Linked DNA regions of Homo sapiens: region 1 is linked to region 2. Evidence: promoter capture Hi-C in human tissues and cell types (Jung and others, 2019). All regions are on one chromosome and are shown on one strand. The core of a region is centred on a gene start or on the middle of the fragment in contact, and the rest is flanking DNA. Distances in the headings are between cores, read along the strand shown. Region 1 holds the start of LINC01847 (long intergenic non-protein coding RNA 1847). Region 2 holds the start of ADRA1B (adrenoceptor alpha 1B).

The links. The method cuts DNA at HindIII sites, captures the fragments that hold promoters and counts their contacts. A contact is called where the count stands out against the background at its distance.
Region 1: a fragment that was not itself captured here is called in contact with the fragment with the promoter of ADRA1B in region 2 in 2 of the 25 tissues and cell types used here (aorta and heart left ventricle).

The regions. Positions count from the first base shown.
Region 1 is chr5:159,866,533-159,871,887 of GRCh38, reverse strand. It overlaps LINC01847 (long intergenic non-protein coding RNA 1847), which reads left to right and starts at 504. Exons shown (of 3, transcript NR_109891.1): 1 at 504-4,030; 2 at 4,853-5,016. It also overlaps a transcript of ADRA1B not described here. The HindIII fragment of the contact is 5,117 bases long and covers 1-3,894 here.
Region 2 is chr5:159,912,378-159,918,049 of GRCh38, reverse strand. It overlaps ADRA1B (adrenoceptor alpha 1B), which reads right to left and starts at 1,568. Exons shown (of 2, transcript NM_000679.4): 1 at 196-1,568. The coding sequence starts at 1,144. RefSeq lists enhancers at 378-994, 995-1,611 and a silencer at 1,675-1,734. The HindIII fragment of the contact is 5,190 bases long and covers 1-4,358 here.

The sequences.
Region 1 (5,355 bases), core at 87-2,586, 46 kb after region 2:
ATGTAAGTAAAAGTTGCCACCATCACAACTCTAAAGAGAACTATAACCTCAAAGTCATTCAAAATTGGCATTCAAAGACTGTCAAAACAGGGCTTCAATCTACTTTTAAAATTCTCTTTCTTAGACTTTGTATTGGGTTGAATAGCAGATCTCCAAAAGATACGTCTAAGTCCTAACCCCACCCCACCACCCCAGTACCTGTGAATGTGACTTTAATGGAAATGGGGCTTTTGAAGATGTTAAGAATCTTGAGATGAGATGATTCTAGATTTAGGGTGGGCCCTAAGCTCAAGGAGTGTTGTCCTTATAAAATAAAAGAGAGGGAGAGTTGAGACATAAGGACACAGGGGAGGAGCTGCAAGCCAAGGAATTAGAATCACTAGAAGCTGGAAGAGGCAAAGGATGGAATCTCTTGTAGAGCCTCCACAGGAAGTGTGGCCCTGCTGACCCCTTGATTTTTAGACTTCTGCTCTCCAAAAGGAACCATGAGAGAATAAACTTCTGTTGCATTAAGTCATCGAGTTTGTGGTGCTTTGTTATGGGAGCCTTAGAGACCAATATAGACCCCAACTTCCAGTTATAATGGGCCACTGAGCTGTTTCCTGAATAGCCCAGCTGTTTGCTGACCTCGGGTTTTTAACCATGTTGCATTGGACACATTATTATATTTATATTTAATGCAAGCACAGTTAACTATTTAGTTGGCAAAAAATAACATGAATAGACTGAGGGAGGCTGAGAGCAGAGCAAATTGATGGCTAAGCTGCTAGGGACAGCTCTGTCTGCTTTTCCATGCTGAATGGTGAGTGCTGCCCTGCAGGTTGCAGGAAACATGGCCACAACTACTCCTCCTCACCTCTTCTATGGTCTTCCCACAGGATGAGCATCTCATCACAACATGTGTGAGTCCAATGTGGAAGATTTCATGGTTTTCATACAACTTGGCCCCTTAAAGCAAGCTCACGAATTCAGCTGAAGCAACAACAATTGATTTTGGGACTACAGGACACAGTGACTGTATTGGATTTCTTGAGAGACAGTGTCATTTTCCAACACAGTCTCTCATAAGGGATTTTCAAGGGAACTTTTGACTATCCTCTATTTATGACTTTTTTTGGCTTTATGCATTGATTTTAGAACACAAATGCTGAATAAGATTTGATTCCTTTGCGTTCACTTTGCTTAGAATCCCCCAGCATACTTTAACATGCCACTTTTTCCAACAACTTCTCCCTTCACACCCGGATTGGTGCTGAATTTCTAACTTCTTCAAAATTCCATAGCATTTCCCTCCATCACTCCCATGTATCTTCACTTACAGGAGTTTATACACACATCAGCTTCCCTTGCAGAATTTTTTGACATTGGGGGCTACATATCTTTGAATCTCCCATAGGCCAGTGGATCATTGAATGAATGGTTGGATGGATGGATGGATTTATTGATGTTTATAGATTTCAGAGAAAAATTAAATGGAATCTAATAGCTAAAGCAAAGAGAGCTTGTCTACATTTACACTGCCAGTGTGAGTCTTGATGCACAAACTGGGAATCAGATTGCCAGGTGATGCCACACTCTTGCAGATAGATGGCTTGCTTTCTCTGTGGACTTAAAATAAGTCAAGCGTGAGGCCACTCCTCTAAATCACTGGTACAGGGATGCGTCTATACTGCAACTCAGCCTAAGTGTCAGTTCCTCAGAGAACCCTTCCCTGTACCTCCGAGTCTAGATGAGTCTCCTTCCTCTCTGTTATATGCTATCATGGAATTCTCTTTTTTCCCTTCATAGCATTGTCACATTTTGAAACTATTTGTTTCTGTGACTTTTTGTTTACTGTCTTTTACACCCTCCAACCTCTTGGCTGACTTTAAACTCAAGAAACGTAGGATTGATGTCTGTTTTCTTAACCATGGTAATCCAGTGTCTAGCCCAGTGCCTGCCATTGGCTGCAATATATTACAGCAGTAACATATCACATATTACTGCTACTAATGTCTAATATTAATTGACTATGTATTATGTGCCAGACACTGTTCAAAACTGCTTTACATAAATCATCTCCTTTTATCTTCACAATAACTCTCTGAAGCAGGAGCGATTATTATTCCCATTTTGTAGATGAGGAGACTGAGATACAGGGACACTAACTGGTTCAAGGTATCACAGCTAGGAAGTAGCACAGTGGAGACTTAAACCCAGGGATGCCAGCCCCAAAGTCAGGAAGTGTTCACTAATGTATGTTGAATAAATGAATGAATCATGATCAATATTACTGTGTATCTTCTGGACTAATTGCCTAGCCAGTGCAAACATGTCTTCTACAACTATTCTAAGAGTTAGTTCTCCAGATCGTTCTGAAATACTTCTTGCAATGGGATTCATTAGCTTTTCCAGTGAGCAACTCTAATAACTAGGATGATCTTCATTACATAAAACTGAAATCCACTTCTGTGGTAATTTTACCTGTGGACACCTGTTCTGCTCTCAGTAGTTTAAAAGAACTTTAGTTCCTCTCATATAGCTCTGATAAGAGTTTTCACTTAGATGACAGCCTATGTTCCAGCTATATCTCCAGATTCTGGCCAAACCATAGTGTACTGCTATACCTGTTAAACTGAGGCATCCACACCTGGATAGAAGGCTTTCCAGGAATGGTTTGTCCAGGGTGGAATAGAGTAGGAGTATTCAGCTCTGTAACCCTGGGGACTGACATGATGCTTGTTGAATTGAAATGAAATGCTTTCATAGTGGTAATAATAATCTCTTTACTTTGTAGTTGAAAATTACAAAATATGTATGTGTGCCCGATTTCAGTTGGTTTTTCTCTACAATATGTTGTTTAATCTCTGCTGCCTTTTTGATTTGAGGCTTCAGGATATTAGAGCTATAAGCAACATGAGAGATGCTCTGAGGTCCAGAGAGGTTGAATGGTTTGCTTAGAGTCAAGTTAAGTTTCCTTTTAAAACTGATAATTTCTGGAAACTATGTCCTTCTTCCTATGATCTCCCATGAACCTGATGGGTTTCCTGCCCTCTGGTCCTTTTCAGTATATTGACTGTGGTCAAAATAGTGTTGGCAATGAACTTTCTATCATTGGAGGTGTATGAACTGATAATGAGTTGGCTTTTGAGTAAGGATGTTGTACCTACAACAACAGCTGAGACATCTAATGAGTATTGGTCTAAATGATCTTTCAGGTAATGTAACCTCTGGCCTTACAAAAACTATGCCACCCATAGACTGCATAGGGATCAGGTAGAGTTTTAGCCACAAAGCTTTCAAGACTTCTATCCACCAAATCGTTTCTGAATATAGCAACCTAGTTTCTCACCATAACTGGTAGGAGCCAAGATCATCATCCTTCAATACTGAAACACTACCAAAAATATACAAGTTTTCAACACTGATTCTCAATACCTTGTGGAAACTTCCCAAGACCTTTTGTCCCAATCCTATTTATTCTTCACACCTAGCTCAACTCTTGTTTACTCTGAGTATCCTTTCTCAATCCTCTCAATTAGAATGAATCCTTCCCTCCCATATTTCCCCATAGGAAATTGTAACTCTCCTATAAAACTTATCAAAGTCTGCCTTATATTATGCATCTTTTCCCATTTCATTGAGCAATCAGCACTGATTTATTTGTACATAATTTATTATCATTATTAACCATGTACCAAGCCAAGTACTTTACTTGTTTTGCCTTTTTGTTTTGTCTTTACCTTATTTATTCTTTGCAATGACCCTATGTGGTAGGTGTTTACAATATCACCATTTTACATATGAGGAAACTGAGGCTGGGAAGTTAGTCATCTTCCTAAAATTACATGGTAAGTTGGTGCCAGAGCTGGGCTCACAAATTCTTATAGAACAGAGGCCATGATTCTTCTCTCTCAGTCCCTAGAATTTTACTTTGTTTGCAATGGGTGTTTAATAGTTTTTTTTTCTGTTGCTTATAGACACAGATCCAGAACACGTGAGACCACACTTGTGGTGAAGAAAGCCTGCGGTTCCAGAGAATCAAAGCCAGGTAGATAAGCTGGCAATTGGATCAAGGTGAAAGCAGTTCTTCCATTGAGTTAGGCGAGCACTCAGGAGCTCTATTATGACAGGGACTCTCTGACATCTGTCATCATGTGGTCAAAGGAAATAATGGAAAGTAAAGAACAGTGGTCTCCATCTTTGATTTCAGTCTTGGGTGGAATAAGAGATGGAAAACTTTTATTGTCTTAGCAGTTGGTTTGAGAATTCTTTCTGAGGAGACATCCACCCTGATGTGGAAAAACCCCTTGACAAGCCCACTTGCTGTAAAATACTTACAGCAAGTATAGCTGTAAAATACTAACAGCAAGTATAGCTGTACCTGAGTGAAGAGGAAGAAAGGGAGAGGAAAATATGAGAGAGGGCGAGGGAGAGGGTGGTAGAACCAGCAAGATGGTGAATCAGTTGTACTGCATTGTACATGATATAATCACTCCCCAGAACTGCATGATCTTCAGTGAATTCTTGAAAGCTTAGCAAAGGGCAGACACAAATAGATTTCTCATGGAAGATAGAGAAAGCACTATGCCTTGGGACACGGGGTAGAATGGAATTAGTGAGCCAACAAAAAGATTCTCAACACCAGAAAAATGCAAATGTCTTGAGGATGGCTTAAGGCTTTCCCATGCTGTAGAATTCAGGGTTCAAGGCAACATCATTGAGATTTCAAGGATTTTGAGGGGACCAGTGGGCAACTGTTTGACATTTGGTAACGTACCCAAAAGAGGTCATATAACTAATTTAAATTCAGTTGAACAGAGAGTAAGTAGATGTTTCTTGAGCACCAATCTAATGCCAGACTCTGTGCCAGGTTGGACATCGCTTCAAGGCTGCTGGGGAGAAATTATGAAGTAGATCTATGGGAATACTTCCCTGTTTTGTTCTGCTGAGAAATCTCTCTCAGTTCTGCTGGCTGCTCACTGGTTCCTGAGATAACTAACCCGGCTTATCCCTCCAATATCAGAACCGCAGTTTGTGAGCTTTCTTTTCCTCATTTTTTTCATCAAAATTTGTTCATTTATAAAATGCTGTAGAGTGCTGTTAAGAGTGTTCTGAACTTAGACTTTGGAGACCTTAGACTTTGCAGAAAATTCTTGCCCCAGAAGTTTCTAGCTGTTTGACGTGGGAAAAAACACTTAACTTTTGGGAGACATTCTCCCATAAAAGCACATAATGGTTTTTATGTGTTTGTCCCCCACTACACTGTGAGTGGCACAAGGGCAAGTACCATTACTATCTTTTTTTTTTTTTTCCTTTTTTGAGATGGAGTCTCACTCTGTTGCCCAGGCTGTAATGCAGTGGCGCGATCTCAGC
Region 2 (5,672 bases), core at 319-2,818:
TCTACTAACACCTGAGTTGGTTTTTAGCCAGCTCCCCAATCTGCAAACCCTTTGCAGAACAAACAATATTATTCAATCTCCGAACACGCACAGACTGCATAAGAAACAAAACCCACAAAAAACTTTAGAGTAAGCTCATCAGTAAACCCAAGGTCCAAAAATGCCCAGTCCCCCTGCTGCTAGTCCCCAACTTACCAAGCGGTAGAGCGATGAAGAAGGGTAGCCAGCACAAGATGAACATACCGACCACAATGCCCAACGTCTTAGCTGCTTTCTTTTCCCTGGAGAACTTAAAAAGTTTGACAGCTATGGAACTCCTGGGGTTGTGGCCCTTGGCCTTGGTACTGCTAAGGGTGTCCTCGTGAAAGTTCTTGGAATGGATCCTCAGGGTCAGCTCCTTGGAGTTGGACATCTCCTTCATGACTCCTGCCTCTAGGTTCTTGGTGGTTCTCTTGGCCACTATATAGACACGGCAGTACATGACTAGAATGACCGCCAGAGGGATGTAGAAGGAGCCCAGAGAGGAGAAGAGGGCATAGAAGGGTTCTTCGGTGACCCCGCACTCCTTGTCATCGTTGGGTGCCGGCTCCTTCCACCCAAGGAGAGGCCCGATGGAGATGACGGTGGACAAGACCCAGACACTGAGCAGCGCCAAGATGGCCTTCCTCCGGGTGACCAGCGTGGGATACTGCAGAGAGTAGCGCACCCCGATGTAGCGATCGATGGAGATGGCGCACAGGCTCAGAATGGACGCTGTGCAGCACAGGACATCCACGGCTGCCCAGATGTCACAGAAGATCCGCCCCAGCACCCAGTAGCCGAGCACCTCTAGGGCCGCTGAGAAGGGCAGGACGGTGAAGCTCAACAGCAGGTCGGCCATGGCCAGGTTGACAATGAAGTAGTTGGTGGGCGTCCGCAGGTGCCGGTTGCAGGCCACAGACAAGATGACTAGGATGTTGCCCACGATGGCAAAGAGGATGAAGGCGCCCAGCACCAGGCCCACAGAGATGGCCCTGGTGATGTCCAGCTGGGGCAGTGTGGAGTTGCTCGAGGTCTGGTTGGGGCCAGTGAAGTTGGCATTTTTCAACTCTCCCCAGTGGGCAGGTGCTGATGTGTTGTGGCCGGTGTCCAGGTCGGGATTCATCTTAGAGTCCGCCCTCCATAGCCAGGGGGATGATTGGGCTCGGAAGGGCTGCGGCGAAGGCTCCTCAGCTGCCCTGAAACTTTGCTTCCCCCGTGGTCTTCTTCCCAGAGGCGCCCTCCTGGCGAGGAGTCATCTCCCCCGGGCAGCCCAGCCCGGCAGCACGTCTCCTGCCTGCACCGAGTCGCTCGCTCGCCTGTCAGAGGGAGGAGGAGGAGGAGAGGGGACGAGGCGGCAGCTCCAAGTTTAATGGTCCACGTCAGGCGCGCCTGGCCGGGCTCGCGGGGGAGCGGCGGGGAGGAGGGGGCGGCAGGGCCGGGGGCGCCCGGCGGTGCCCAGCTCGCTCGGGTCTGCGGACCGCGGCGCGTCCTCCGCCCAGCGAGCGCCGAAGAGGGTCTGCTTTCAATGAGCCGCTTCTGGGCTGACTGCACGGCGGTGACATCAGGCGGGGGAGCCCGGCGCCCTGACTCCGCGCGGCACTAGGGGGCAATGCGGGTCCAGCCAAGGCGCCCGCAGCCCCGACGCCGCCACCCCGCAAGCCGGGAAGCCAGCCGCGTCCCCCGCCGCTCCCAGGGCGCGCCCTCTGCGGGGGGCGGGGCGGGGGCAGGGGCCGCGAGGGCGGGACCTGGGCGTGGAGATCGCGGGTCACCCACCCCTAGGCGGCCCGCTGGGGTTATTTTCCCCGCTAGTCACTCTTCCGTGTCAAAGGTGGGTTGGGGGCTGCTTACCTTTAATAGGGGGCTCCCGGAGTGGGCCCCGGATTTAACGGGATATGCAACTTGTCCAGCACCTAAAAGAGGGAAAGAGAATTCTAGGATTGGGCAGGTGGGAGGGACTTGAGTCGGATCTGAGGCCAGCCCTCATCCTTCATCTGGCTCCCCTCGCCCCGTGCAAACTCTTTGGCCCCAGTAAAATCTGGCTTCTCTTCATCCTTTCATTCGCTCAGGCATTCACTCATTTATTCAGCCGATTCTTACGGAGTCTCCACTCTCTGCCCTGGCTCTGGGCGCTGTGAACATAGCAACTGAACAAAATAGACGGACTCCTGCCCTATAGGAGCGTAGCTTCTCCCGACAGAAGACAGACAGTATACTAAATAAGCAAATGATGAGGTGTGTAATGTGATGACAGGTGTTAGGCTGAAAATAAAGTAAGGAGGGGGAAATGCAGTGGGGTGTTTGTGGGGTGGATTTGAAATGTTAAGTGGGTGCTTGGGATGTCACTGAAGTGATATTTGAGGAAACATGAAGGGAATTGAGGGAGGAAGCTAGCTGGCTATCTGGGAGTGGGGGTGAGGGAGGTCAGAGACCTGGGGAAGGGACGTAGAGGATCTTGGTTATTTGTTGAGTTTTTTCCTTTCTGTCTGATATCCATGTTGGACATTCAGTCACAGGGACGCACTCCCAAAGGTGGGTGAATGGTACTTAGAAGAGAAAGTATGGGCCAAGAAAGAAAGAAAGAAAAAGCCAAAGAACTTTATGTTAGTTCACATTTATCCAACATTTATTTTGTCCTAGACAGTGTGCTGAGTTCTTTTTGCATTTTCTCATGACTCTCATGAGAGAAAGAATACACTCTTCACCATTTCTATTTCATGGATGAGACACCAAATTATGGGGAAGTTTAGCTGTTCGCCCAAGTTCACAAAGGCATGGAGGAGAGCTGCTGGGAACTGAACTCAACTGTGGGGTCTCTCCCAAAGTTGGGTACTCAGCTACTGTGTCATACTTTTCCCCCGGGGCAAGGTAGGGGATGGAACCACTGTTATAGATGGAGCTGCCTTTTGAGTAGTTAATTTTGGGGCCTGAGCCACTGGTGCTGGGCAGGGACTCCCATGAATTGAGCGCTTACTGATAGCCATGCATTTACTCAGTTTCTTTGAGACTTTACAATTCTTTGAGAGAAGCATAACCATTGTTCATTGAGAGATGAGAAACAGTGGTTCAGAGAGAGTCAGTTGATTCCTGAGGTCATAGGCTAGCAAATATATGGCAGAGCAATGGGCAGTGGCAGCTGGAGATTGAAAAGTAAAGCCTGATACCTTCTTTTACTCCAGTTCACAAGCCTGCATCTTGGGTTTCTCACCTTCTGCTCTTGATACTTGTTATAACTTGATATTCACGGGTGGGGAAAACAGAAGTCACTCAGGATGACTTACATCTAAGCTTCTCAACCTAGAGGTAAGCTCTTAACCTCTTTTTATTTTTATTTTTTGAGAAGGGAGGCAGGTGGTTATCATACACGTATCGAAGGTTTTAATTTACTCCCAGCAAAGTGCACAGACTCCACACATGTGCAAAATACACAATTTCAGGGGGTTTCCCTCGGGTTAAGAAATCTGTGGTAGAGACAGTCCTGAAAATGGATTATTTTCTATTATAATTAAATTGCCCTAAGCTGTATTTGAAGATTTGATAATAAGAGATTCACAAGTTTATAGTGATTTAGATCTTCAGAAGCTCTCAGAACCTTGGTTTGCTTATCTTCCTGTGTTGGAGGTGGTGCACTAGGGAAAGAGACTTGGCAAGATGGTCAGGAGCAGAGCTGGTTAGGAAACTCTGTTTCCCTGGCCTACAGGACAGTGCTCCTTCTGCTCCTGCAGCCACTCATGACCTACACAGTGGGGTGTGAGACTGGAAGAACTTGGCAGCCCTCTGTCAGGGGTCTTTATTAAAAGGAGAGGCTGTCATTGGTCCTGGGTGGCTCAGACTAGTCTGTCTGCAGATAGGACCTGGCTTAGATGATCTTTGAGATCCCGTAGCTCCAGGTGGTCAGCTTCTCTTGCTGGATAAAGTGGCCCCCGAAGGCACCTGCTATCCTTTCTCTCATGCATCTTCCAGGGTAGGGGTGAGAGTGAGGTATCATGAACTCAGTTCCCACCATTCCCAATGTATCATTAAGTCTAAGATAATGGGGCTTCTCTTGAGCTGGTTTACTTATAAGGGGAGAGGGAGGAGGAAGAGAATACCAGTAACCTGGCACGTAGCTGGCATTAGCACAAAGACAGGGGTGTAGGGGAGGGTAAGGGTGGGATAAAATAAAGAGCAAGTTCCAAATCCACATTTTGATTGTGGTGGCCCATTTCCCACTTCCCTGGGCATTAATTTCACCAGCTATTGAACAGCCAGCAACACACCATTGAATTTACTGAGGCTGTGTCTACATAATCACAGTAACCAGCTGCAATGTGAAAACTCAGCCTATCAGACATTTTTCTGTGGTGGCAAAAGGCCAGGATGAAAAAAAAAGAGCAAATCTGAGATTCAGAGATGGTTTATCCTCATTGTGAAAGAAAATAGTTTGTTACCTAGATGAGAACTTATGTCTTGATTCAGGTGTCAGGATGTGGAAGAAATTATTGAGCCAGATTGACAAGTTCAAAATCCTTGCAGATTTCAGACTTGTTGTCATTTACCAGTGTGTTTCGTGAAGGCAAAACAAAGATCTCACTGTAAGGGGAACAGGTATTAGCCTTAATAACAGCCGTGTAGCAGGACCCCACACAGCAACCTTTGCTAATGGTGCTTTCCTTGCTGCTCCTCCCCTTCCTTTGCTAGAGATGCCTCTTAACCCCTCTGGCTGATTTTTGACCCATGGACTTGACCATTTGTTTAGGTGTCATGAGAACACAGACGATATTTCATTTTCTCGGTACTCCCTGGGGCAAAGTCAAGCACAGAGCTCTGACTCACTCGACGCTTGTGGAAGAAGAATCTTTTCATTATCCATCTTATTGCATTAGAAACCTCTGATGTTGCAGAACTCCCATTTCTGCGAACCCTCCAGGGGAAGCTGCCACTGAAGTTGACCTGTAGAGAAACTGAAGCTATGGGAGATTCAAGGATCTGCTTAAGACATCTATGGGAGGAGATCTGTCACCTGTGATCATGCAATTTTTCATGGTGCTCTCTCTAGCTTTCAATTCGACCAGGCATATAGAGATGCATGTACTCTGTGTAAGCACCATGCTAAGTACCGTGGGTGAACCAAAGATGAATGAAACCAAGCAAACAATAACCTAACACTGAGCTAGGTGCTGTGGGAGATGATGATAATGCTAAAGCACCTTTCAGAGAGTACCTACTATGTGCCAGGCACTGTGTTAGGCAATCTATGTGCATTTACTCAAATTCACAACAATGCAACGGAGGAATTCTCTCCATTTTACAAATGAGGAAACTGACGTTCAGAGAGGTTCTGTGACATGGCCAAGGCCATTCAGTGAGTAAGTAGCATTGGTATTCAAAGCATTGTTGTCTGGCTCCAAAGCTTGCATCCTTCTCTCTGCACCAGACTGAGATTAAAAAAAGAAAAAGGCAGCAGAAGGTTCAATGTTAGCCTGAAGGAAATAACAGCAGAGAACAGAATGTGACCAGGCTCCTTAGTAAGGCAGAGGTCAGGGAGGGGAGGGAAAGGGAGAGCTGTCTGGGAGTAAAGGTTCCCCAGCGGAGCACCTTAGGTTAGTCTTCCTTGCCTTCCAGGCCAGCACTTGATCTGCTGAGGGAGTTGAGAGCTAACTTGGATTCTAATT